Regions from separate parts of the Homo sapiens genome. Here all the other regions are linked to region 1. The links are contacts of gene promoters, found by promoter capture Hi-C in blood cells and fetal thymus (Javierre and others, 2016). All regions are on one chromosome and are shown on one strand. The core of a region is centred on a gene start or on the middle of the fragment in contact, and the rest is flanking DNA. Distances in the headings are between cores, read along the strand shown. Region 1 holds the start of CAGE1 (cancer antigen 1). Region 2 overlaps LY86-AS1 (LY86 antisense RNA 1). Region 3 overlaps LY86 (lymphocyte antigen 86). Region 4 overlaps LY86 (lymphocyte antigen 86). Region 5 overlaps LY86 (lymphocyte antigen 86). Region 6 holds the start of EEF1E1 (eukaryotic translation elongation factor 1 epsilon 1). Region 7 overlaps LOC101928004 (a long non-coding RNA gene).

Evidence for each region. Contacts are between HindIII fragments. The CHiCAGO score rates a contact against its expected background, and 5 or more counts as called.
Region 2: a fragment that was not itself captured here is called in contact with the fragment with the promoter of CAGE1 in region 1 in 3 of 17 cell types (fetal thymus, non-activated CD4 T cells and naive CD4 T cells); the score reaches 8.0 in fetal thymus.
Region 3: a contact is called between a fragment that was not itself captured here and the fragment with the promoter of CAGE1 in region 1, in 8 of 17 cell types (naive CD4 T cells, activated CD4 T cells, total B cells and 5 more). The highest score is 10.9, in naive CD4 T cells.
Region 4: a contact is called between a fragment that was not itself captured here and the fragment with the promoter of CAGE1 in region 1, in 1 of 17 cell types (monocytes). The highest score is 5.4, in monocytes.
Region 5: a contact is called between a fragment that was not itself captured here and the fragment with the promoter of CAGE1 in region 1, in 6 of 17 cell types (erythroblasts, naive B cells, naive CD4 T cells and 3 more). The highest score is 9.6, in erythroblasts.
Region 6: the fragment with the promoter of EEF1E1 here is called in contact with the fragment with the promoter of CAGE1 in region 1 in 1 of 17 cell types (total CD8 T cells); the score reaches 5.6 in total CD8 T cells.
Region 7: a fragment that was not itself captured here is called in contact with the fragment with the promoter of CAGE1 in region 1 in 3 of 17 cell types (fetal thymus, naive CD4 T cells and non-activated CD4 T cells); the score reaches 7.6 in fetal thymus.

What each region holds. Positions count from the first base shown.
Region 1 is chr6:7,388,174-7,391,420 of GRCh38, reverse strand. CAGE1 (cancer antigen 1) reads left to right here and starts at 1,679. Exons shown (of 14, transcript NM_001170692.2): 1 at 1,679-2,219. RIOK1 (RIO kinase 1) reads right to left here and starts at 1,613. Exons shown (of 17, transcript NM_031480.3): 1 at 1,348-1,613. The coding sequence starts at 1,418. RefSeq lists enhancers at 941-1,727, 1,331-1,750, 1,881-1,930, 1,941-2,000. The HindIII fragment of the contact is 2,322 bases long and covers 1-2,248 here.
Region 2 is chr6:6,579,857-6,583,103 of GRCh38, reverse strand. All of the region lies in intron 1 of LY86-AS1 (LY86 antisense RNA 1), which reads left to right. Among named protein-coding and RNA genes, the nearest start is that of LY86, 7.2 kb to the left of the region's middle. The HindIII fragment of the contact is 289 bases long and covers 1,652-1,940 here.
Region 3 is chr6:6,608,482-6,611,728 of GRCh38, reverse strand. The region is part of intron 1 of LY86 (lymphocyte antigen 86); the gene reads right to left. All of the region lies in intron 1 of LY86-AS1 (LY86 antisense RNA 1), which reads left to right. Among named protein-coding and RNA genes, the nearest start is that of LY86-AS1, 13 kb to the left of the region's middle. The HindIII fragment of the contact is 1,073 bases long and covers 1,239-2,311 here.
Region 4 is chr6:6,629,622-6,632,868 of GRCh38, reverse strand. The region is part of intron 3 of LY86 (lymphocyte antigen 86); the gene reads right to left. Among named protein-coding and RNA genes, the nearest start is that of LY86-AS1, 8.4 kb to the right of the region's middle. The HindIII fragment of the contact is 532 bases long and covers 1,476-2,007 here.
Region 5 is chr6:6,652,940-6,656,186 of GRCh38, reverse strand. LY86 (lymphocyte antigen 86) reads right to left here. Exons shown (of 5, transcript NM_004271.4): 5 at 1,205-1,643. The coding sequence ends at 1,560. Among named protein-coding and RNA genes, the nearest start is that of LY86-AS1, 32 kb to the right of the region's middle. RefSeq lists a silencer at 2,140-2,330. The HindIII fragment of the contact is 4,773 bases long and covers 1-3,247 here.
Region 6 is chr6:8,100,819-8,104,065 of GRCh38, reverse strand. EEF1E1 (eukaryotic translation elongation factor 1 epsilon 1) reads left to right here and starts at 1,518. Exons shown (of 4, transcript NM_004280.5): 1 at 1,518-1,631. The coding sequence starts at 1,545. EEF1E1-BLOC1S5 (EEF1E1-BLOC1S5 readthrough (NMD candidate)) reads left to right here and starts at 1,471. Exons shown (of 7, transcript NR_037618.1): 1 at 1,471-1,631. RefSeq lists silencers at 1,266-1,465, 1,606-1,725, 1,934-2,119. The HindIII fragment of the contact is 8,997 bases long and covers 1-3,247 here.
Region 7 is chr6:6,704,654-6,707,900 of GRCh38, reverse strand. All of the region lies in intron 4 of LOC101928004 (a long non-coding RNA gene), which reads left to right. Among named protein-coding and RNA genes, the nearest start is that of LY86-AS1, 83 kb to the right of the region's middle. The HindIII fragment of the contact is 2,232 bases long and covers 515-2,746 here.

The sequences.
Region 1 (3,247 bases), core at 430-2,929:
AAGTATCAGCTCACTATCACTTGCTCAAGGAAGTCTTCCCTATTTTTCCCCCACTTCTCCTTTGTACTACTTACCCAATTCGAATACAAATAGTCTAATTATTTAATAATATCGGTTTCCCCTGCTAGGGTGCAAGCTCTGTGTCATTCAGGATGGTATTTACCAATGCCTCCCTACCACCTAAGACTAGATCTGACTCACAGAAAGCATTCAACATACATATATTTATTGAAAACATCCCCAATAATTAACAAAATCCGCATGTGATGAATCCTTACTGTAAACATAAAGTACAAGCTGTTTTCTTGGAATTCCAAAATAACTCCAATATGTTTCATTTTGCTTTTAGGCAGGAGTTATCCTTCATCCCTCTTTCCCCAGACTCCACGTCCAGTCTACCACCAAACGCTGCCACTTCTACCTCCAAGACATATCTTTAGGATCTGGGCTCTAGTCCCCACCATCTTTGAATCTGATTACCTTATTATTTTTGAACTGGTCTCTCTGTTCCACTCCCACCCTCCATGAACATCATCTACCTAGAAAGAATGATTCCTTTAAATCACCAAGCAAATAATGTCATTCTTCTGCTAAAATCCCTCCTATGGCTTTCCATAAGACCCACATTAATATCTGAACTTTTCACCATCACTTGTAAAGGTCTCCATGATCTGGCCCCCCTTCTTACTTCTCTATCACCCTACCAATCTTCTCAACTACCTCCACTGTGCTCTAGGCACTCTGGCCTCGGGGCCTTTGCTCTTGCTGTCCCTTCTGTGTGAAATGCTGTTCCCTCTGCTCTTGCCAGGATTAGCTCCTTGTCATTCAAATCTGGACTTAACCTTTCCCTACCCATTCAGTCACCACTTGGTATATCAAACGATTTGCATAGTCTACATCATTATTTGGTTTTTAAATGGTGTGCCCTCTCTTTCACGTAGAAGGTAAAGTTCCATGACAGCAGGAAGTTGGTTCTTCTTGTTACCTCCGGCGCCCAGGACAGAACGTGGTACATATTAAGTGCTTAGTAAGTATTTGTTGAACGCTAAATGTGGTTAAAACGCAAAAACCCATGTTTCCTAATCGCTATCCCCAACTCTGCCTCCCAGTGACGCTAACCGACCTGAGAACCGCAGACTCCCTTGACAAGTAGCTTTCACTTAACTCTGCCGCGTGAACTGGGAGAAAAACCCAGCTGGGATGCAGAAACAGGCAAAGGGTTGTCAAGAGAGACGCTGAGTGATGAACCACTAGTCTCCCTCTAAACCGCAAACAAGAGTCCACACCCCAAGGGGGCGGTCAAGGAGAGAGCCGTACCCAGAGCCAGGGCACTGTACGGCCGCCTACCTGTCAGAGGAGTCCGCGTCGTCGAATTGCCCGGGGACCACCCGGCTCATGAGAAGCCGCCGGTAGTCCATGACTGGAGAGCGCCGCCGGAGGCCGCCGCTCTGCGATGGAAAGGAACGGCTCAGACGGATGTACCCACGGCCGATCCAAAGGCCTTGGCGTGGATATCCGCCTTGCAAACCATTCAGAAGCCAACAGTGGCCACCACGTGCGACGGGAAAACGGGACCGACAGATCCACCACCCTGCCACCCCAACCGGAAGCCCCTCACCGCCTCGCCCGGAAGTCTGACTTGAGCGGAAGTCCCGCCCCTGCGCCGAGCTGGGAGTCCGGAGCTCTCTGGATGGCGCGCTGTATAGGGCTGTGGATGTTCTGTGCTCTCAGGAAGGCGTGTTGAGTAGCCGGCACGGCGAGGCCCGTGCTGGCCGTTTCTTCCCGGAGTTTTCGTTTCTGTACCCCACTTTGTGTTTACTGCGGCAGGAGGCGCCAGCTAGCCCACAGGCTGTTCGGCCTAGGGGGTCGTACCTTCCTAACTTCACCACTCTCTGGGAAGACACCGCACCCACAGTAGGGTCGCTCGGGCCTCGCGGGCTGCACCTGTCTCTGCGGAGTTCCCCCGGCGCGGGCGGACGTCACACAGGGGCGTTCCAGCACTCCGGGAGCCCGATTGCGAGTTTGTGAGAGTCCTTGGTGGAGGAGGTTGGAAAGCGTTCTCCCTCCCACAAAACCCGGTGCAGAGGGAGGGAGAGCCAGGTCCGTAGCGTGGGTCCAAGAAACTATGGATCCTGGAAGTGAGCACACTTTTGTGTCTTAAAAAGTTTGGTGTCTCGTTTTGAGGTGAAAAATGAATGAGATAAGTGCTTTTTAAAAAGGTAAAGTTTGTCTTACAACTGAAAAAGCTTTTAAACAAAACTATAGTTTTTGCGAGTAACTCCCGTGACACCTCTTTTAACTCCTATCTTAAAACAGCTTTAGAATGTCTCTGGAACATCTATTCAAACATTTGATAAATATGTTAAAAATCCAACATAAACCTGTAAGGACAAATGAAAGATGGAAAAAATAGTCTAACTTTAAATTAAAAAGGTAAACTGGCAGATTGTGCAGTGCCACATGAGGGATGAACAAAGTTGTAGAAATGTAATTGGAAGTGCTGGGTTCACAAACAAGAAAACTAAGAAACAAGGCCTTTGCGCTTTTTTGCATTGGGAAAACAAAGCAAGAATTTTTCAGATCTCACCACAATCCAGGCAGCATTATTTGAAAGACAAGGGAGAAGTGAGCATAAAGTTGGGCCTTTCACTGATCCTGACTGGTCTGCTTGGCTTACTTTTTTATATTTTACCAAGTGATGACATAGGTTTGAAAACAACTAATTTTCAATAAACTATTCATTCAGAAATTCAATAAAAGAATCCAGGCAGATGAGTAATGACTATAAATTGAAAGAGCTTGATAGAAATAAGTCATTGGAATGCAGGTTTTATTCAATCAATATTTGCTGTGTAGACAGCACTGGTCCATTTGCAGTAGGGGATATTGGAAAGCCCTAAGTATGCTCCTCTCAAGACATTTATGATCTGTAAACACAAACACTAACACCCTTGAAACAGTGGTGAAGCTCTAAAACAGTAAACGAAATCACCAAGTGCTGAATTGTAAGATAGAGATTTAGAGACTGAAGACATTGTAGGAATTTTGAAAATAGATGAATGGGTAGATGGGAAGGTTTTAGGAGAGAAGCACGTGCCAGGGCAGATGACTGAAGCTTAATTCGTAAGGAACATTATCTGTCTGCAGGGAAATGAGCCTGATCTGAGTAGAGCAGGGGAGTACCGGGTAGGGGATGTCACTCCAGGCTATGGATGGCCTGGAAGGACAAAAATTTATAGAATCAATG
Region 2 (3,247 bases), core at 547-3,046, 810 kb after region 1:
GAAATTGCTCTGAGCTGCAGAGAGGGGAGCTCTAGCGTGAAAGGACTGACGACCATTGTATAAAAATCCTCTGCAGCATGGGACAAATTAGCAACTTGCAGCTATGACTCTGTTCCTCAAATTGAGAATGCTCTCAAGATCTCATCTTGATAAGAATGAAGTGATTTCAGTAAGCCGAAGGAAAAACACTGGGGAGGGAACCAGAAATGGGATGAAGAATGCAAAGAGTTCTTTTACGTGCTATGAAGAAGGGGTCCTCATTCACTGTTGTAGATAGGATCCCAGGCTCTGGCTTCAGTGTGTCCCTCCAGTTCTGGCTAATTCCAGAATTTCTGGCTGCCATTATGGGATTTGCACTTGGCACATATAATCCAAAGTATTGGAGATCCCATTTTGCTGGACTGGCAGGTGGTATTTGGAATAAAATAATTTACCTATTCTCTGGATCAGACTCTTAGGGATGTTGTTGAGTTCCCTCTCCTGGCAGTGGCCGGCAGATCCACCCAGAATTCTTCTGAAGAGGTCTGATGAGGTCTTGTTCAGAATTCTTCTGAAGATGTCTTCTAATTCCCTGTAGTAGTAAACATCCTAGCAGTAATTTTGACATACAAATAATGGCCTTTGAAGTAGCCTGTGTTTTTTCTTTTTTGGATTGAATAAGAATATCCGAAATGCACTTCTGTTATGTCTCAGGCATTCTTCTAAGTGCATTCCATGTATTCTTTGATCCATTTCATCCTCACAGCAGCCTTACAAGGTAAACACAGCTCTGTCATCCACTCTTTACCCCACCTCCCTGCCCAACCCCTGGCTCTGCAACTCTGAAATAAATTCCAAAGTCTTCCAAGTCTACAGAGGAGGAAATTCTTTTTTTTAAAGGTAGTTCTTTTGGTGGAAAAATCTCATCTAAACTGATGAGACTGTTTATAGTTTTAATTTATCTCAACTGGGTGTATTTCACTATGTTTTGCTGCATACTATTAATGTGATTGATTTGTGGTTAATGGGTACTGTACCAGACTCCGTTAGGAGTGTTATAAAATGTGAACTCTATTACCTTTCTAAAATCAAGAAATTCTGATTTATAAAACACATCTGTACCGAAGGATTTCAGGGAAAGGATTCTGGGCCTGTTGTATGATTCTTGTTCTCCTGATGAGGAAACTGAGGCATAGTGAGTGACGCATCCAAGATCATACACACAGTAGGGCCATTGGAGGTCAGACAGTGAAACTCCCTTCTTCAGTTCTTGACCTCTGAGAAAACGGCCTCTTTCCTACTACGCCCAGTGGTTTGCTTATCTTCCACTGTAGTGATAGCCCACAAGTGATCCCCAAGTGCTTGGAAACTGAGGGGACTTGGACCATGTAGCTTCAAGAAGCAGGTCTCACCCAAGCTTCTGTCTCCCTCAGATGGAGGGAGAGGGGAAAGGCTGAGGGGAGAGGGCTCAAAGGGAATGGCCTTTGTGGTCTTGTAGGCCTGGGCTGCATCTTGTCTCTACTCTGTGGTATCAGTAGGTCACATAAGTTACATTCCCTTAATGTAGGTTAATTTACCTATAAAAAATCAATCATAATAAATGGTAACTTTTATTACTATTTTTATTGTTAGAGGAAACTAGATATCTGGAGGTGCCTTAAAGCTGAAAGCTTCTTTGTCATCTAGTGTGCAGACTCAGCTGGGGCCAGGTCCTCCATAGTGAGGGACTACATGGATGAACCTATGTGATACATAATAGCTTCTCATTAGAAATGTAAAATAGCCACGGAAAACAGGACTCAGTTCAGAAGAGAGAGGCTTGGCAGATGGCTCCTGCAGGAGTCTGATGAGTGGTGCCTTTCCTGTCTCCACTGCACACAGATGAAAACAAAGGGTCAGATGACATCACGGCACGCTGCTTCATAGACACAAATTGAGCTCTCTGCTTTTACTTTGAAGCTTGGATATGTGGGCTGCAATTGTAAGGTTATTGATGAACAAAGCAGGTGTTCAAAGGGTGGAAGGGGAAGCATTTTGTACTTTTCAGACAAAATGGTGCTTCATTGGCTGTGGCCTCTGCTCACCCGGAATTTGTATTATAATGTCCCTGGTCCTGAGCTGTCACTTCTTGCCCAAAAAGCTGGGCTTTCTTTTGTTACTGTTTTTGTTGTTGTTATTTGTTTGTTTTAGAGATAGTCTTGCTCTGTTGCCCAGGCTAAAGTGCAGTGGTGTGATCATAGTTCATTGCAGCCTTGAATTCCTGGGCTCAACTGATCCTCCCGCCTCAGCCTCCCGAGTATGGCACTAAAGGCATGCACCACCATACCTGGCTAATGTTTTATTTTCTAGAGACAATGTCTTGCTGTCTTGCCCAGGTTGGTCTCAAACTCTTGGCTTTAAGCAATCCTCCCCCCTGCCCCGGCTTAACCTCCCAAGTAGCTGGAACTACAGGTGTGAGTCACTGCACTCAATCTTTGTTACCATTTGGAAGTGTAAGATTGGAAACTCCCCATCAAAGTCACTGAAATAGTATTTCCACTTGATATGGTTTGACTGTGTCCCCACTCAAATCTCATCTTAAATTTTCACATGTTGTGGGAGGTAATTGAATCATGGGGGCAGGTCTTTCCCATGTTGTTCTCATGATAGTGAATAAGTTTTACTAGATACAGTTTTATAAGGGGGAGTTTCTGTGCACAAGCTCTCTCTTTGCCTGCTGCCATCCATGTAAGACATGACTTGCTCCTCCTTGCCTTCTGCCATGATTGTGAGGCCTCCCCAGCCATGTGTAACTGTAAATCCATTAAACGTTTTTCCTGTATAAATTATCCAGTCTCAGGTACGTCTTTATTGCAGTATGAAAACAGACTAATACATCATTTCATTCCACGTGTGTGTCACTGCCCTAGATGGGACTTCTCATGGCCTCCTGGGATCCACCATGGCCCCCTTCCAAATCCATTATCCAGTCTACACCCAGAGCTATCCTGTCTGAAGGCGCATCTGCCAAGGGATGCCCTGCCAAAGCCTCTCAGTGCCCCCTGCACGTACCTTTGAGGCCTCGCATGCTTTGGTCTCTTCCCATCCAGCCTCCCTGGCTGTGGGCACTCCAGCCTTGCTGCCTGCTCTCCCCTGCCCTGGCATCTCTAGTGCCTATCCTGGACTGCCCTTCCTTACCCCTTTTTTACCATATTGCCTGCACTTCCTTGAGAGTTCAACTCAGTGCTTGCTTCCTGAAGAAAGATGTTCTGTCAGGGCTGGGGAGCTC
Region 3 (3,247 bases), core at 526-3,025, 780 kb after region 1:
TAGCCCCTGACTTTCAGGAGAAAGGGGGGACAAACACGACCGGCGCGCAGCGTAGCCACAAGGTGCGGTGAGAGAACAGGGAGGCACCAGTGTGGGTGACAGGAACTGCCACACGGTGGACAGGTAGCAGCGCTTTGCCTTGGAAGCTGTGGAGGCGGTTTTGTGTCCATTCATCTTAAGTATATTCCTATATATTTCCAAATACTTGCAGTAATTACAGATGAGTGTAATAACAGTGATCACTTCTATAGCTCTTTCCACAGCAGGTCCTGTTCTGAGCCCTACGTATGTATTAGCTGAAATCCTCACAAAAGCCTTAAGAGAGATGCTATCATCCGTGTTTTAGAATTGGGAAAACTGAGGCAGAGAGGGTTTATGGAAAGTGTGCAGGTTGAAAACCTTGTACTGGGCTGGAGTAGGAGCCTATGTTATGTAGGCTCTTTTCTACCAACTCAGGCACAGAGAATAATATATACAAAAAAACTCAAGTCCCAAAGACTGTGTATTCTGGGAACTTCACGTTTGTCAACAAAAGCTCTTCATAAAATCAAGTCAGTTGTGCTTTTGTGACCTTCATTTTGAATCATATAAATGCAAACAGTCCAGCTTGTTTCTTTGAAAGGCTGGAGGTCGGAGGTGGCTGGTGTTTGCTCAGACACGGCCAGATCTTAACGGTCCTAGAATCACCCCTGGAAGGACAGTGGAAAAACAAGATAATTTTCTTTTCCTCTATTGCTTAAAGTGGTATCAGAAAGGTAGACTTCTGTCTTCTTCCTATATATTTTCAAAGAAGGAGCCTTCCTTGGCAAAATACAAATTTCTGTGGCTGCTGGGGTCAGAAAGAGTTTCCACCGTCATCACAGGCCTTCATCTTGCAGGTAAGCTCAGACATGCTCACCTTCTTACTGACTTTGCTGAACATCGCTCATGTTGTGGAATAGAATTTCTACACCATTTGTGCTCATAGTGTGACATCAAAACCAGTATGTCCTTTGCAGCCCTTAAATACACACATGAGAATGCACACACACACCCCACAAAACAAAACCCCAGCCCTCCCTCGCTTTGGCCTTCTAGCTTGACCATTTTAGGGCAGACTGTCTTGGTATGTTCCTAGGGACAGAAGCTTCCATGTAACTCAGGCAGTAAATCAGGGCATCAGCTAGCACTCACCTTGCCCCCCCCTAAGCTTCCGTTTCTTCACTTGTAAAAGGAGGAACTGAGCACTATTTTAAGCTTCATGCTTCCTTCCTGTACCAGGCTTCTCAGATGCCCCAGAGGCCAGGGCAGTGGAGCCCAGACTCTGGGGGCTCAGGGCCTGCACTGTGGGTCATAAAGGCAGAGGGAGATGCGTAGCCTCAGGCTCAAGAGCTTCAGGCCATTTTTTTAAAATAAAATCTTTTTATCTTGAAATAATGATAGACATAGGAAGCTACACAAAGAGTACAGAGGTGCCCTGTGTACTTTCACCCACTTCCCTTCATGGTAACATCTTACAGAACCACGTATCAAAACCTAGTCATTGACACTGGTGTACTCTACAGACTGTACTCAGGTTTTAGCGGTTTTCACACGCACGCACGTGTTCGCTCTTGTAGTTCTATGCAGGGTTACTGCGTATAAGCACCACCATACAGATCCTGGCTGGGCGTGGTGGCTCATGTGTGTAATTCCAACACTTTGGGAGGCCTGGGCAGGAGGATCGCTGGAGCCCAGGAGTTCACGACCAGCCTGAGCAACATAGACCCTGTTTCTACAAAAATAGAGGCCAGCACCCTTCCTTGCCAGTGCAAACGTTTCTTGCAATGTTCAGGGCCCTGTAGCCAATCTTGGCCATACACAGAGGCCTACAGAACAAGCACGAATTCTTTTTTTTTTTTTAAATTTTAATGGACACACAATAATTATCCATGTTTATGGGTTTGCTTCCTAAATGCTTTCTAGTATGAGAGCAACTTAGCTTATTTTTCTCCCTGGCCTTCCTACATGTGCTAATGAATTGTCCGTGGCTGCCTCCAATCCCCCAGCAGACCAACAGGAGGAAAAAAATCAATTTGCACTTTTCCTAGGAAGCAATCCTGTTGGCAGAGCTGACTCATAAACAGCCTCCTTTTCTGTGTTAGCATGTTGCTGAGAGGCCAGCGTGACAGTGCTTCTGAATGTGGCCACCTGGATTTAAGGTGGAGTAGTGCCTCAACTGAGAGGCCCTTGAAGGAAGAGAAAGTGTGTAAGGAAGTGCATAGAGAATAAGAGATCCAGTATCTCCAGGGTGTGGAATCCCAGGCTTCCTTCCTAAAGATACCGTGAAGCTTTCCCAAGAAAGCAGAGTGGATACCCAGTGGGAGTTCCCACCCGTATGTCTTGAACTGGAACCAGGGAAGTCAAATTCTTCATTCCCAAAGCCAATTCGCCATTTCTTTCTGCATCTCTTATGTCAATGAGATGAAGCCAGGGTGGGTCTGCTGGATGCTCCAACTCTGCAATAGAGCTCTCCTGGACAGGAAGGAGGGAGGTGTTTCTATGGGAAATCTGAACTTGCTTGTACTTTCTCTTCATTTCACATAGACCATCCGGGAATAGGATCCCGGGGCCATGAACAATAAAAGATTACAAGCTCTTACAGGTGGATGCTGGAGGGGAAAAGCAGAGCTGCGGTTGGCTTGGTCTCTCTGCCAGCAAAATACATTCCTAACCAAGGAAAGGACTCATTTCTCTGCCTCCAGAATCAACACACCCTAGCATTCCCTTCCTGATTAGGGGAATAAAAAATACTTTTGCTAAAGATATAAAAAGAATTATATTGAAAGATAGCAAGCTGCCATGAAAAATAAGACAGGAAATTGGATTTCGGATGAATAAAGGAGAAGAGTTCACCCGTTGAACAATCACAGCCGTCCTTCCCCCGCAGACCTGCACACAAGTTAAACACCACGTGTGAGTTTCTTCTGCTTCACAGCAAAGTTTAAAGAAGGCCTGGCTCAACGCTATGCCCTTCTCTGTAACACCATTGCTGTAACCGTTTGGATATTGTTCAGCCTTTTTTTGCCATCTGTTCATGTGTCTTCAGAACATTTAAAAACTGTTAGTGTGCATGGAAACATTACTGGACAAAACTGATACAACTAGAGCAATTAGTCTAAATACTTTTGCCCAGGCTTAAGCTGCTGAAAACTGGAGAAAGAAAAAAAGGACTGGGCCGGTAAACATTTTCTGACACAGGAGACATAAATAACGGATATTCACAACA
Region 4 (3,247 bases), core at 492-2,991, 760 kb after region 1:
TGTCAGACTATTGTGGGCTAGGGTGACAGATCACACTTTGATAGATGTCAGGTTCCCTTGAAGGGAGTAGACATTCCTAAGATTATGCATTCTGGATGGAAGTCAAGCCAGTGGTAGAAAATAAAAATTTTAGAGGCTGACCTTAGATCAAAGGAAGAAGACAAAACAGAACAGAACAACATAGCCATGAAAGACTTGTTCAGTTACTGGTCAGGAAATTCTGGGATCCTGAGCAGGTTGGCAGTGTGAGATGTTATGGACTGGCTGCTCCTCTGGCTCTATGGTGAACCAGTTTGAGTCCTCTGGCCTGTTTCTATGACAGACCCACCAGAGTTTATCAATCAGCCCTGCAGTTTTCACAAAATGCTCCAACCCTCTGCCTCAAGGTCCCTCGGGTAGGGGAGGAAGCCCAGGGACTCAGTGCTGTGATTTCTAACGCGTCAGACACATCACATATCTTATTTAGTCTCCACTCTTACCCAATAATGAATTATGGCCACTCTCATTTGATAGATGCAGTAATTGAGAAATAGAGAAATGTAATGGCCCTCCAGACTGTCCATGGCAGCTGTGGGGAGGGAAGGAGACCTCCAGGCCTGCTCTCTGGCTTTTTCCTAAGGTGCTCTTCCTCCTGCCAGCTGCCACTCTGACCAGCCTATCTGTTAAGTCCCTTTTGCCCCAAATCTAATTTTTTGGCACAGGTCTTATAAAGCAGAGTCAAAGCACAGGTGTGGCATTGTCCTTGGTGTCCTGGATCTGAATTTATGCTGCAGCTCAGGTCAAGTGTCCACCTGGTGACAGCCCCCGCATACCTGTGCTCAGTAACTCTGGCTAAGAGCCCTGGATTCTGACTTACCTTCTAGCAGTGGTTCACAAAAGTTAACATGCCACAGAACCACTTAGAGCAGGACTGATCAGTCAAAAGAAGAATAATACTTCACCACATGTAAGAATTAAATGAAATTTAAATTTCAGTGTCCATAAATTAAACAAAGCCAAATCAATTATAAAATACATGCAGCAGATATAGACATACCTCACTTCATGTAATCTGGGCACACAGCCATGTCCACTCATTTTCATATTATCTCTGCAAGGGAAGGGTTGAGCAATTGCCACAGAGACCATATGGTCTGCAAAACCTAAAATGTTTACTATCCTTCCCTTTCCAGAAGAAAGTTTGCCAACACATGGCCCAAAAGGCTTGTTAAAATACAGATCACTAAGCCCCAACCCCAGAGCTTCTGATTCAGTACGTCTGGGTAGGGACCAAGAATCTGCCATTTCTAATAATTTCCTAGATGATGCTGATGTTGCTGGTCTGAGGACCACACTTTGAGAACCACTGCCTTATAATAATGGCTGGTTATGCCCAAAGATGATCCTTTGATTTCTATAATTTTGTTATGCCCTTTAAATCTTTTTCCGGTCTTAGTGGAGGGCTGAAATGAGTTTACTTCTTCTCTAGCAAAGCTTTCTTTATGTTTACAGAAGATATACAGCAGAGGGGTTTGGAGCTGGACAGAAACCCAGTTCCACCCCCCGCTGGCTTTGTGACCTTGGGTAAGTTAGACTCAATTTCCTCATCTGATAAGATGAGGGTGTATGTAGGAAAAAACAGTTTTTTCCTCCCATATTCTCAACACAGAGCACTTCTGGTCACCACCTGGCTTGGCTCTCACTCCTAGAGATTCTGATATCATTGGTCTGGGGTATGGCCTGGATGTTGGGAGCTTCAAAATTATAAAGGGAGATAATAATGCAGCGCTGCCAGTAAAAACATTAAAGAGAGTCACACATATAATTTTATGTTTTCTAGGAGCCACATTTTAAAAGTTGAAATTAATTTTAATATAATATTAATATCTTATCATTGATAAATGATTAAAATAATATATTAATGATAAATTCTACTTAACTCAGTATATTCCAAATATTAACATTTCAACACATAACCAGTGGAACAATGATAGAGATATTTTACATTCTTTTTCTAAGACTAAAGCTTTGAAACTGAGTCTGTACTTTACACTTACAGCACATCTCTATTCAGACTGGCTACATTTCAGGGCTCAGTCGCGACCTGTGGCTTGTGGTCATTGCTTCAGAAAGCACAGGAGCAGTTAATGTGCGACCAAGATGGAGACCCACTGGGGTAACGGCGCGCTTGGTGTTTGCAGACCAGACCAAAGCTCCCGGATCACACAGGGGTTCTATCGGCATTGTTGTTCTTGAGGATTGAGGGAGTTGGCTGCAGCTTCCCTCCTTTGGGCTAGGAATTAGTTGTGGTCATTAAGGACATTCAATGAAGCTCAATTTAGTCTTAAAAGTGGATGTGTAGCTTATGGAACCTGTTTGAAAGCATGGCAATCAACTAAAGCAAATACATCTGAATGACTCGATACTATCAGAGGAGACAGAAGGACCAAGGCAGCTTTAACAGAGAAGAAAGTAAAACAGTGGCCAATGTTGTCTCCTTCTCAGTGAGCCCACAGCCTGAGTAAATGGGGCTGTGGGTATCCCAGGCAAGAGGATGGCTGTTAGATCATCCCTTGATATTCTACGCAACTCTTTGATTCAGAACTTTCTATTCGAGTCCAAATATCGCTGGATATTACATAGGCTGTAATTCTCTTTGAAAACTCTTAAATTTATTCCCAGGGGAAGAGAATTTATTCTCTCTATTCTTTCCTGTAATGATAAAGTAACACTTAAAAGAGTAACCTTGCAAATTTATCATAAAAGCAAGCGAGATTTCCAAAAAAGACAAAAATAAAGATCTGCAGAGATAAGTACTCTTAGCACTAAAGTGTGTACTCTTTCAGAGTTTTTTTGTGTATACACTTACACACATTTTATACAATAGGATTCAACAGTGACTACACTTTTATAGCATGCTTCTTTGTCACATAATATTCTTACAAGTATATTTTCATGTAATTTAGTAATCTACGGCATCATTTTAAAATCACAGCATACTGTACCTTTGTTTGGCTGAATAATGACCTACTTAGTCAATGCCCTATCGTTGGCCATATACGCTATTTCCTCCACATTGTCAATCACAGCATAAGTAATCATACTGAAAGAGCATCAGCTGGTCTTTGAATCCAATGTGATGCTTGCCTTAAAGCTAGCTGAGGACAAGGCAGAGGGAAAGGAGGCAACATTTCAGTCTCACTAAGCCTGACCCATTTTGTGTTTTATTTGGCTTGGAGAAAAGCCAGCGAGATGCAGTTTGCAGAGG
Region 5 (3,247 bases), core at 443-2,942, 740 kb after region 1:
TGGAAATTCCAGTTTAACACAAACCTATAGCATCTGAAACTTTCTCTCTCCCTCCCTCTCTCTCTCACGCACACGCACCCACACAGTCAATTTAAAGAAGAGGGCAAAGGGATTGGGAAGGGACTGGCTGAGTTCCACCTGTGTCTTTGGAAGGCTGTGACAGCTGTCTTGTACTGTTAGAACATGTGCGTACACAGAGTCTAGCCAGGGACTTTACTACTTGTGGTGATGGTTACTGAAAAGGGAGAGAGGTGAATGTCTCAAGCTAGAGGGAATGGCCAGGGGCAGGAATCATTTGCTATTCTTGTGCGTAACACCGTCACCCCCATGTACGTTCAGAGGTTTGCTCCTGAGCCTAGTATGACCACGCACGTCTTTTCCCTCGAGCATTATGGGCCTAGGCAAGGACGCTGCTGCAATTTTGCCTGCTCATAACCCAGAAAACCTCAGATGCTGGTTTTAAAGTTTGACAGGCATTTTTGACCTGCTATTCTAGGTGGTTTACTGATGTATAAACAGTGATTAATAGCAACTACTGTTTTTTAAACTATGGAATTTTTTTCTCTTTTAATCTCTAATATAGTGGCATTTTTATGAATGATAGTGTCAACTCACCCACCTTACTCCAGCCCCTTAGCAGGAGCAAGAGGGCCAGCAGGGACACTGGAAGGACAGGGGCGTCGGATGGTGAAGGGGCTATGCAGCCCACCATGCGATCAGTGCATCCCAGGAGAGAAGACGGGGCCGCAGAAATGGCTCTGGAAGTAGCATGGGCAACATGCTCATTTACGGAGAGCATCGTAGAAGACAACTTAAGAACACAGCACCTGATACACATTAAGTGTTCAGGAGTTATTCCTTGCATTCATTAATGAATGCAGTAATGAACGCCAGCATATGCTGAGGTCAAGTGTAATCATGCTTTGAGGGATGAAGGTGAAATGAATGTTTGGATAAGCGAGAGTATGATGTCCCTATTCGTGAGGTTGCATCAGCTTCTCGGCCCTCATGGTCCAAGGGTGGGGGCCTGCCCAGGAGAAGCAATGGCACATTTTCCCAGTGTTCTAATTTTAGCCAGGCTGTCACCCTCCTGAATTTCTTGGAACTGCTTATGCTGCACCAGCATCCGGCACTGTATCTGGAGGAAATGACTTTTTAACTACAGCATTGTAGTAAGATTCTTTGAACAAACCACAATGAACAATGGTGGCCAGCTTTCTTTATTCTTGGTAACTGTGAGGAAGCACTCCTAAAAAGTTGAAAAGCAGGTGAGTCTGGTGGGAGGCGACCAATTAGAGAAAAAGGATGGACCCTCAAGACTGCTTAAGGACTGCCAAGAGGCTCCTTAGAAACAGATACATTCGGGGACTTCATTACATCTGTGGAGTCTGGGGATGTCTGGTCCTGGGACTAAAATTAGCAGCTGCACTCTTTGGGGGCGCTTCTTTGTAGAGCCTCTCTCTGTCATCAGCTGCTTCTCCTCCCACAGTAGGTTCAGTCAGAGGAGCTTGGAGGTCCCACGAGATGCAGCTGGCTGTGATTTTTGCTACAGGCCACAGTCAGGAGCACATGATAGTAGCATTGGCACAGGCCACGGTGGACCGTTTTTCAGTGTACAGTTCCAGCAAAACCTGGTATTCTCCCTGCAAGGGGCACAGGTCAAGTATTAGACGTGTGACCCACAGTACAATTAACCATTTAACAAATATTTACAGAGAAACTTTTATGTGCTGGGTGCTGTTCTGGACATTGTGGATAACGTAGAACAAGACAAGCCAACCCCTGCCCTGTGGAGCTGACAGCATCTCTGGGAGAGACAGACCACCCTTATGATATGTGACTATGTATGGTGTGTCAGGTGCTCATGTCATGGAGAAAACTCATGCAGGAAGGGAGTGGATGGAAGCACTGGATGGGTCAAGGCAAGTGCTGGTCTGCAATTTTGAGCAGGGTGGTGAAAGGAGGCCCTGCTGAGACGACGACATTTAGGCAAAGACCTGAAGCAGATGCAAGAAGGTGCAGTGCTGCTATGGGCTGGGGCCCCCACCTTAGAGGGGCAGAAGGAGGCCAGTGGGGCTGCAGGGAGTGGGGGGATGGGGGGGGTGAGGTAAGGGCAACACAGGAGGCCAGACTCTTAGGGCCTCAAAGGCCATGGTGGGGACATCAGCTTCCACTCTGAAAGGGACTCTGGTCAGGAGAGGGTGGCCTGCCCTGGCGCCTGTGTCGGTAAGATCCCTCTGGCTGCCTCACTGAAAAGCCCAGATGGGAGGCGATTGCAGGAATCCAGGTGAGAGATGAAGATGACTTGGAGTAGAGGTGGAGGTGGGGGAAGGCTTTGGGTGCCAGAGAGATTTTGAAAGAACAGCCAATAGGATCCGCTGAGGAAACGCAAGTGGGTGGGAGAGAAAGAAATGGGTTAAAGGTGACTCCAAGGCTCCTGGCCTGAGCAACTGGAAGGAGAAAGGTTTGTATGCTCAGACAGAGAAGACCCCGGGGAGCACAGTTCACCAGCACAAAACCAAAATGCACCATCACAGAAAGAATGGCTGCCTTTGGGGATCCTTGCTGGCAGCAACACTGTAAGGAGGTCTCCCTTCCTTTGCAGTCAGCTTGGCAGAAGCCACCTGGCAGCCAGGTCCTATGAGGACTGTAGAAGAGCCATTCTGGTTTTGTTTGCTGCCAGCACCCCAGTCCTGCACCCCAGCAGCCACGGAGCGGTGATGTGTTTGTAGACACGAATCTGGAGAGGAAAATGCTCTGGGGTGGTTGGAGGGTCGCAAGCGGAGCAGAGGGACTGTGGCAGAGGAGGCCAGGAGACTGCTGGCACATCTTTGAACTGCCTGTCACCCAAAGGAGGAAAGAGTTTAATCTGTATAAAGCAAGAGGGAAGGAGTAGGTGAGACCACCGGAGAGAAGCTGCATGAAAGGTGGCTTTTGTTAGAAGGGAGCAACTTTCTAGCAATGAGCAGAGCTTCCAAAGAGAGTGGAGTCCCCAACACTGAAATTGTATTCAAGAGAACCAGGCTGTGCTCTGGATGGTGCCTTGGGTGTGATTCCATGATTCTAGACGCTCCCATGAGTCACACTCCTCAAATATTGAGCAGCTGTAATTTTAGAAATAGTGTTAGGAATATAACCAAAGCAGTCCAAATGTTAGAGAATTAATTATGAGTAAAGACCGGCTCAAATTTATATCTCGTTGTGTTTCATCGTTCTCTTCCTCCTCATGTACTTTTCTTTAAAATCT
Region 6 (3,247 bases), core at 269-2,768, 710 kb before region 1:
TGCTAACCAAACCAACAAACAAAAAGAACCAAAAACAGGTTTTCATGAATTTTGTCCTTAAAGCATATCTTACTAAGAGTATACAATTAAATGACTGTGCTATAAAGTCACTTAAAAGAGGTCCACACTGGGTGATGATGTCATCAATTTGATGTACAATATGCTTTGTTCTGCTTTCAGTTTTTTAGGGATTTCTTTTTTAATTTGATATTTCTATAATTATGCAAAGGCCAAACCTTATTTTCAATATACCACCCATTGGCATTGGATAAATGTTAATTTTTTTAAAAAATGTTTTATTACAAGCAAAAAGTGTACCTAAACCCTGAAAATGGATATGTGAATTATCTTAGAGGGTTGGTCTTTTAAAAAGTAGTAGAATAGTCATTCCATTATCTGAATATGGAAAGTAAAACAGATAATTTAGTGCCTAACAATCCACTTATACTGAAATTTCTTTTGTATTTTGTTATGTTGATTTGGCAAAAGTTTCTTTTCCTTATGTTTACTTCTGCTGACAGAGTAAACTCATTAAGTATTCTGGGATAGGGAAGGTGTAACACAGTAACAACATTCCCCACTAAACTTTGATATTTCTGATTCAATGATGAGTTACCTTGTAGGATTGTTCTATTTCTCTCAGACTAATACACACTTTGTTTATTCATTCTTCAAAGTGGAAAATATTTTGTATTTTCACAAATCTTTTGGAAATATTCAACATATACTACTAATTTTCTTTCTTTCTTCCTTTCTTTCTTTTTTGAAGATACAAGAATGTAGCAAGTTAGTGGGGCAAAGTTATGCACCTTGTTTATTTATATACCAAAACTTCATAAATTATGTAACCAGCCTTCTGGTACTGCAAAAAAAGATCATTAATGCCATTAATGGCTTATTTCCTTGAGCTGTAATTATTTGACCCCTATCTGACATACTCCGTGTTCTGTGAATAATCTTTAAATGTATAATTCTACTGCTAGTGTTGAGCTGTAGATCAACAGTAGAAAAACCAGTTTTTCGAATTCACCACTACAACACAATTAAAATCCTCATGAATTATGCTACACGTTAGAAACTCCTAATGGACTGTGAACTTTTTGCTATTCAATTTGATTGTTCAAATTTACAGATTCCTGAACCAAACTAAGGCAAATTTCAGTTCCCATCATATATAAATTCTCTTAGACTAGCAAATGAGTTAACGAGTTACCGCTGGCAGCCATGTCAATAGATTGCCATTTAGAGATCCAGATCCAGTCTACTGCAGCCACCGAAGCCCGGCCTTGGGGCCTTTCTACCAGTAACTAGCTCCCCAACAGTTCGAGTGGAAATTTACCATCACTTCTCCACCTGTCTCACACCCCGCCCTCAGCCCCGCCCCTTCCACCGGCCCCGCCTCCTGTGCTTTGGCGCGCGCTCTCCACGCCCCTTCCGTTCAGCCAATCGCCGCTGAAGTTTGCAGGAGTGGGACTTCTGTTTCCACCAATGCGGGAGGTTCTTGTTCTGCAGGTCTCGCGTCTGCCAGGAGCTACGGCCGGAAGATGGCGGCGGCCGCAGAGTTGTCGCTACTGGAGAAGTCCCTGGGACTGAGTAAGGGGAATAAATACAGTGCTCAGGGCGAGCGACAGGTGAGAAGGAGAGGCGGCGCGGAGGGGAAGAGGTGGACGGGAGCGGGGCCTGCCGAGCCCTGGCAGGACCCGGGCCGGCCACCAGATACGGGCGGAGTGAGGATGCTGCTACCCAGCTCCCCACGTGTCTGCGCCGCTAGCCGGCTGGCGCCTCTGGGCCTCGGCCCCTGCCATCCTACCTCCTGGAGGGAGGGGTTAACCAGCTCAGGTTGGGCTTGGCCTGAACTTCACCTCCTGGGAAATTGTCATCATCCCATTATGAGGAAACAAAACCAGTTGGAGGAGGGTCCTCACAGGGCTCTTAGACCAACCTGGAATGTATTCAGTAACTGGCTTTTTTTTTTTTCCCGTAATCGCACCTTTCATTCAGTTATTGCGCAGCGACTCCGTTATAGCTAACAGGGTGCCAGGTAGCACCGTGCTGGGTCTGGGGAATACAATGATGATTTAGGGGAACATGCTTCCTCCTCTCAGGCAGCTTGCTTTTTGGCCAGGTGGACAAACATTGCAACCATTTAAATTGGAAGAGTGCCACGTTGCACCATAAATGGCAGAGAGAACACCTAAGGAGTCTTGGCCCAATCTAGGGGATTCGGGGAAGGCGTTTCTAAAGCCTTGGATTATCAGTTTAAGTGTTACGACCCACAGTGAATGCGGGAAACATCACAAGGTATGAGATTGCCTGGTTAGGCACTGTTAGAACGTTTGTGTTTTATAGTTGTTTGTCGTAGAAGGAATGTATTAGAGAAGGAAATTGGTTGTAGGAAGACTACTTTGGATATATGTTTTTTTTGCTCCTTTGAGATTTTTTCCAAATGATGTTTGGTTTTTGTCTTTAATTTTTTCTCTTCTTCATTTGGTCCATGTGAAGATCTTGTCTAGAAAGTAGTAGTATAGTTTTTATTTAAGTTAACCTGAAGCCTAGAAAGGTTAAGTGTTCAGCCTAAGATCAGCCCTGTGATTGGTGGCAGAGTAGGCGTTGGAGCCAAAGTGGCCTTCTTTTGGTGTTTCCTCTGCCCCAGTGATAATTCCGTCCCTTCGGCCCCTACTCCCTAGCTTAGTGTATATATTATATAATATATATGTAGTATAAATATAATATATATGGCCGAGTGGACAAACATTGCAACCGTTTAAATTGGAAGAGTGCCATATATATATATATATATATATATATATATATATATATATTTTTTTTTTTTTTTTTTTGAGACAAAGTCTCACTGTGTCGCCCAGGCTGTAGTGCCATGGCATGATCTCGGATCACTGCAACCTCTGCCTCCCGGGTTCAAGCGATTCTTCTGCTTCAGCCTCCCAAGTAGCTGGGGTTACAGGTGTTCGCCACCACGCTCAGCTAATTTTTGTATTTTTAGTAGAGACCGGGTTGCACCATGTTGGCCAGGCTGGTCTTGAACTGGTGACCTCAGGTGATCCACATGCCCTGGCCTCCTAAAGTGCTGGGATTACAGGCGTGAACCACTGTGCCTGGCCTAGTTTATATTTTTTAGGGACCATTGCCAAGATATGAGTATTATCTAGTATGAGAAACAATCATCAGCAAATAATTTAAAGCACAACATAGTAAGCACTTCATGGACTGTCGTGGGTGAGCAGCA
Region 7 (3,247 bases), core at 381-2,880, 680 kb after region 1:
GGCCAGCGATGCTGCTACACATCTTGCAGTGCATAGGATGGTCCCCACATCAAAGAATGATCCCACCAAAAATGTCAGCAGTGTCAAGGCATAGAAACGCTGATCAAGACAATGACCCTTTCCAGTCTTATTTAATAAATAAAAAGAACTCAACCAGTTTTCTTTGGTGATGGAGGATGGTTCTTACAGCAGTGTCCTTCCTTTAAATTGTATGAGCTGTAGTGTAGAAATAGAAATGAAACAGTTATCTTTTTGTCTAGTTTTTGGACAAAAAATTGGTCCAGAACACACCATGAAGGATGATTCTGGGAAATCAGATATTGCAGATGAAAGAGAACTTGGCTGGGGACAAGCTCTGGGTTCTAGCTCTGGTTCTAATGCCAACTTGCTGGGTGTCTGGGACTGTCACTCTCATCTAGGGGTGGAACTAAAGCACCTTCAGACCTCTGCTGCCTCTAACAGTTTCTTCTAGAACAAGTCCATGCATGAGTCAGTTGAGAGAGTTGCTAAAGCTTAACAGAATATAAAGGAATAAGGAAGAAGAAACCACTCCACCTCTGCCCTTCCACTTTCGTCGGCAGGGTACGTCCACCCATAGCATGGGCTCCCTGTGTGACCCACTTCCCTGCTTCCGCATGGGCTTGAGGGAGGAGGAGGCCTGGCATGCCGGAAGGCTGGCCAGGGGTGAGGTCCGTGCTTGGGGACTGGTGATGTGAGAATGGGCTAAGCAGTGAAGAACTCTGTGGCATCTGTTTTTAAAATGGAGTCCAGGGGTGAGCAGTGGCTTATGAATGTTCTCAAGAAAGAAATGATGACTAGCCTTGGACATTTTGATGTTGCTCTTTGAAAAGATCCATATTCTCTTTTGGGATGAATTATAGTTCACTTGTGATATTTCTTTTAAATATATTTTTTAATCTTTAAAATTATTTTTATTTTTATTATTTTTTAGAGATGATTCCTTGCTCTGTTGCCCAGATGGGAGTGCAGTGGGCACCATTATAGCTCACTGCAGTCTCGAACTCCTGGGCTCAAGTGTTCCTCCCACCACAATTTCCCAAATAGCTCGGACTACGAGTGTGACTTACAATATTTCTTATTACACAGGAAGCTGAATTTTTTTCTTTAACTTGCAAGAAGTCTGTGGCATTTTTTAAATTTATTTTTGTCTTCACAAACAAGTAGAGTAAGTGATTTAAAAAGGTATACACGTGAAATCTTTTTCATAGGTTATCCATATTACATGGTAAGCAAGTTAAACATATAAAAGGCTGTACAGAGAAAAAAGGAGTCCTCCTCCCAGCTCGGGGGTAGTTGATCTTTGTTTTCTTATCACTATGGTCTTGGAGGGCAGAAGTTGGAGAGTTGAAGCCATAGTGAAGCATCACCAAACTAAGAAGGCTCAGGTCTTGGGACAGCTCCATGCACAGGCTGAATGGGACGGCTGCCAGGAAGATAATATTCTGTTCTGGATGTACATTTCCAGGGCCAGTAAGTGACTGCACACACCTGAGGCAGTTGACCTTCTGCTCTGTCGATGAAAGAAGAGGGGACAAAAATCAAGGGACAGGAACAAGGCAAGAAATTGAGGCTTTTGGAGTTATAGGCTGGAATTGTGCTGAATTTTCTTCTGAAATAGTTCACTAAGGTGTATTAGCCAACCACTTATGTCTTTCCTTCTATGTCATTTTCTTTTTTTTTTTTTTTTTTTTTTTTTTGTTATGGAGTTTTGCTCTTGTCCAGACTGGAGTGCAGTGGCGCAATCTTGGCTCACTGTGACCTCCGCCTCCTGAGTTCAAGTGATTCTCCTGCCTCAGCTCCTGAGTAGCTGGGATTACAGGCGTGCACCACCACGCCCGGCTAACTTTTGTATTTTTTGGGAGAGACGGGGTTTCACCGCGTTGGCCAGGCTGGTCTCGAACTCCTGACGTTAGGTGATCTGCCCACCTTAGCCTCCCAAAGTGCTGGGATTATAAGCATGAGCCACCATACCCAACCTATGTCATCATTTTCAGTGGAAGTAGTTGTCTAATACGAGGAAGTAACACGTGTTCAAAAGAATAGAGTAGGGTTGCTTGATCTTCTGTGTTTTCTTAGAGCTCTATTTTCTTTGTGTTCAGAGCAAGTTCTGATTTGGACAAAAAGCATGGCCTCTTAGGGCTGTCAGTGCTGCCACTTACTTGGTTGTGGGCTTAATGTGCTGGCTTTGAGTCTGTCTCACTGACTCCCATGCTTCGTGGGTCCCTGGAATTCTGTGCTTATGGGGATCCCCAACATGACCTGCACATAGGACAGCAGGAAAGGAGGACATATATACTGCGTACATCTCCTCTGCTCACATGCATCTCCACTGTCCCCATAGGATTTCACTCGTAAAACACAAGTTCACAGATAAGACTAAGGATGTTAAGACGGTGATGGTAGAGCACTAAGCCAAGTGTGGGTCCTTCTAAGCACAAGGCCTTGTGCAGCATGACAGGTTGGTCACCATGAAGTGGTCTCTGCCGATGTGGTTATGAAACCAGGAGGGCTGAGGGATCTTGAAACATGGGATGAGCTGCCTAAGGCCAAAACCAATGTTCTGAGGATGGTAGAGCCCAGAGCTTGAAGGAATTTATGTTCCTGACAACAACACTGAACCACTGGTTTTAATCTCCTTGGAACTTGCTTGGACTTCTTATCTGAGATTAGAATATCCTTGTTTTTAAAGGTGGTTTGAGCTGAGTGTCACTTGCAGGTGAAAGCTTTGTGACGTACACCAGAGGACATCTTGTCCCTAATGAGTGAATGCCATAATACTTTACCTTTATTTTCCTTACTAGGCTCCATCTCCGTAGCCTGCTTTTGACAAAAGTGGATACATAAATCTAGGGGCCACCTAGCTAGTTCTAATAAGACTTTGGAAGTCAAAAGCTAAAGAAGACCAGGGGACCAAGCTGGAAATCAGGCTCTGCAATCAGATTCCAGAGGGAATGCCATTCCACCCAATCACCTAGCCACAACGGTTCCCTTCCTTCAAGATGCTGCATGCCTCTTCAGGCGAATGGATTACCTTGTAAGAGTGACCTGAAAAAGCGTTAGCCCAGCCACACCGAGGCTTAACTGAGCCATTTGATTCTCACTGCCTCTCTCTGTTGCTTCCTCTTGCTTTCAACTACAGGGTCTTTCTGTTTAGGTGGTGAAAAAAATGATCGTTAAAAACAATAAACCTGGGGACCTCTGATACCATGAGCCCAGCCAGAGATCT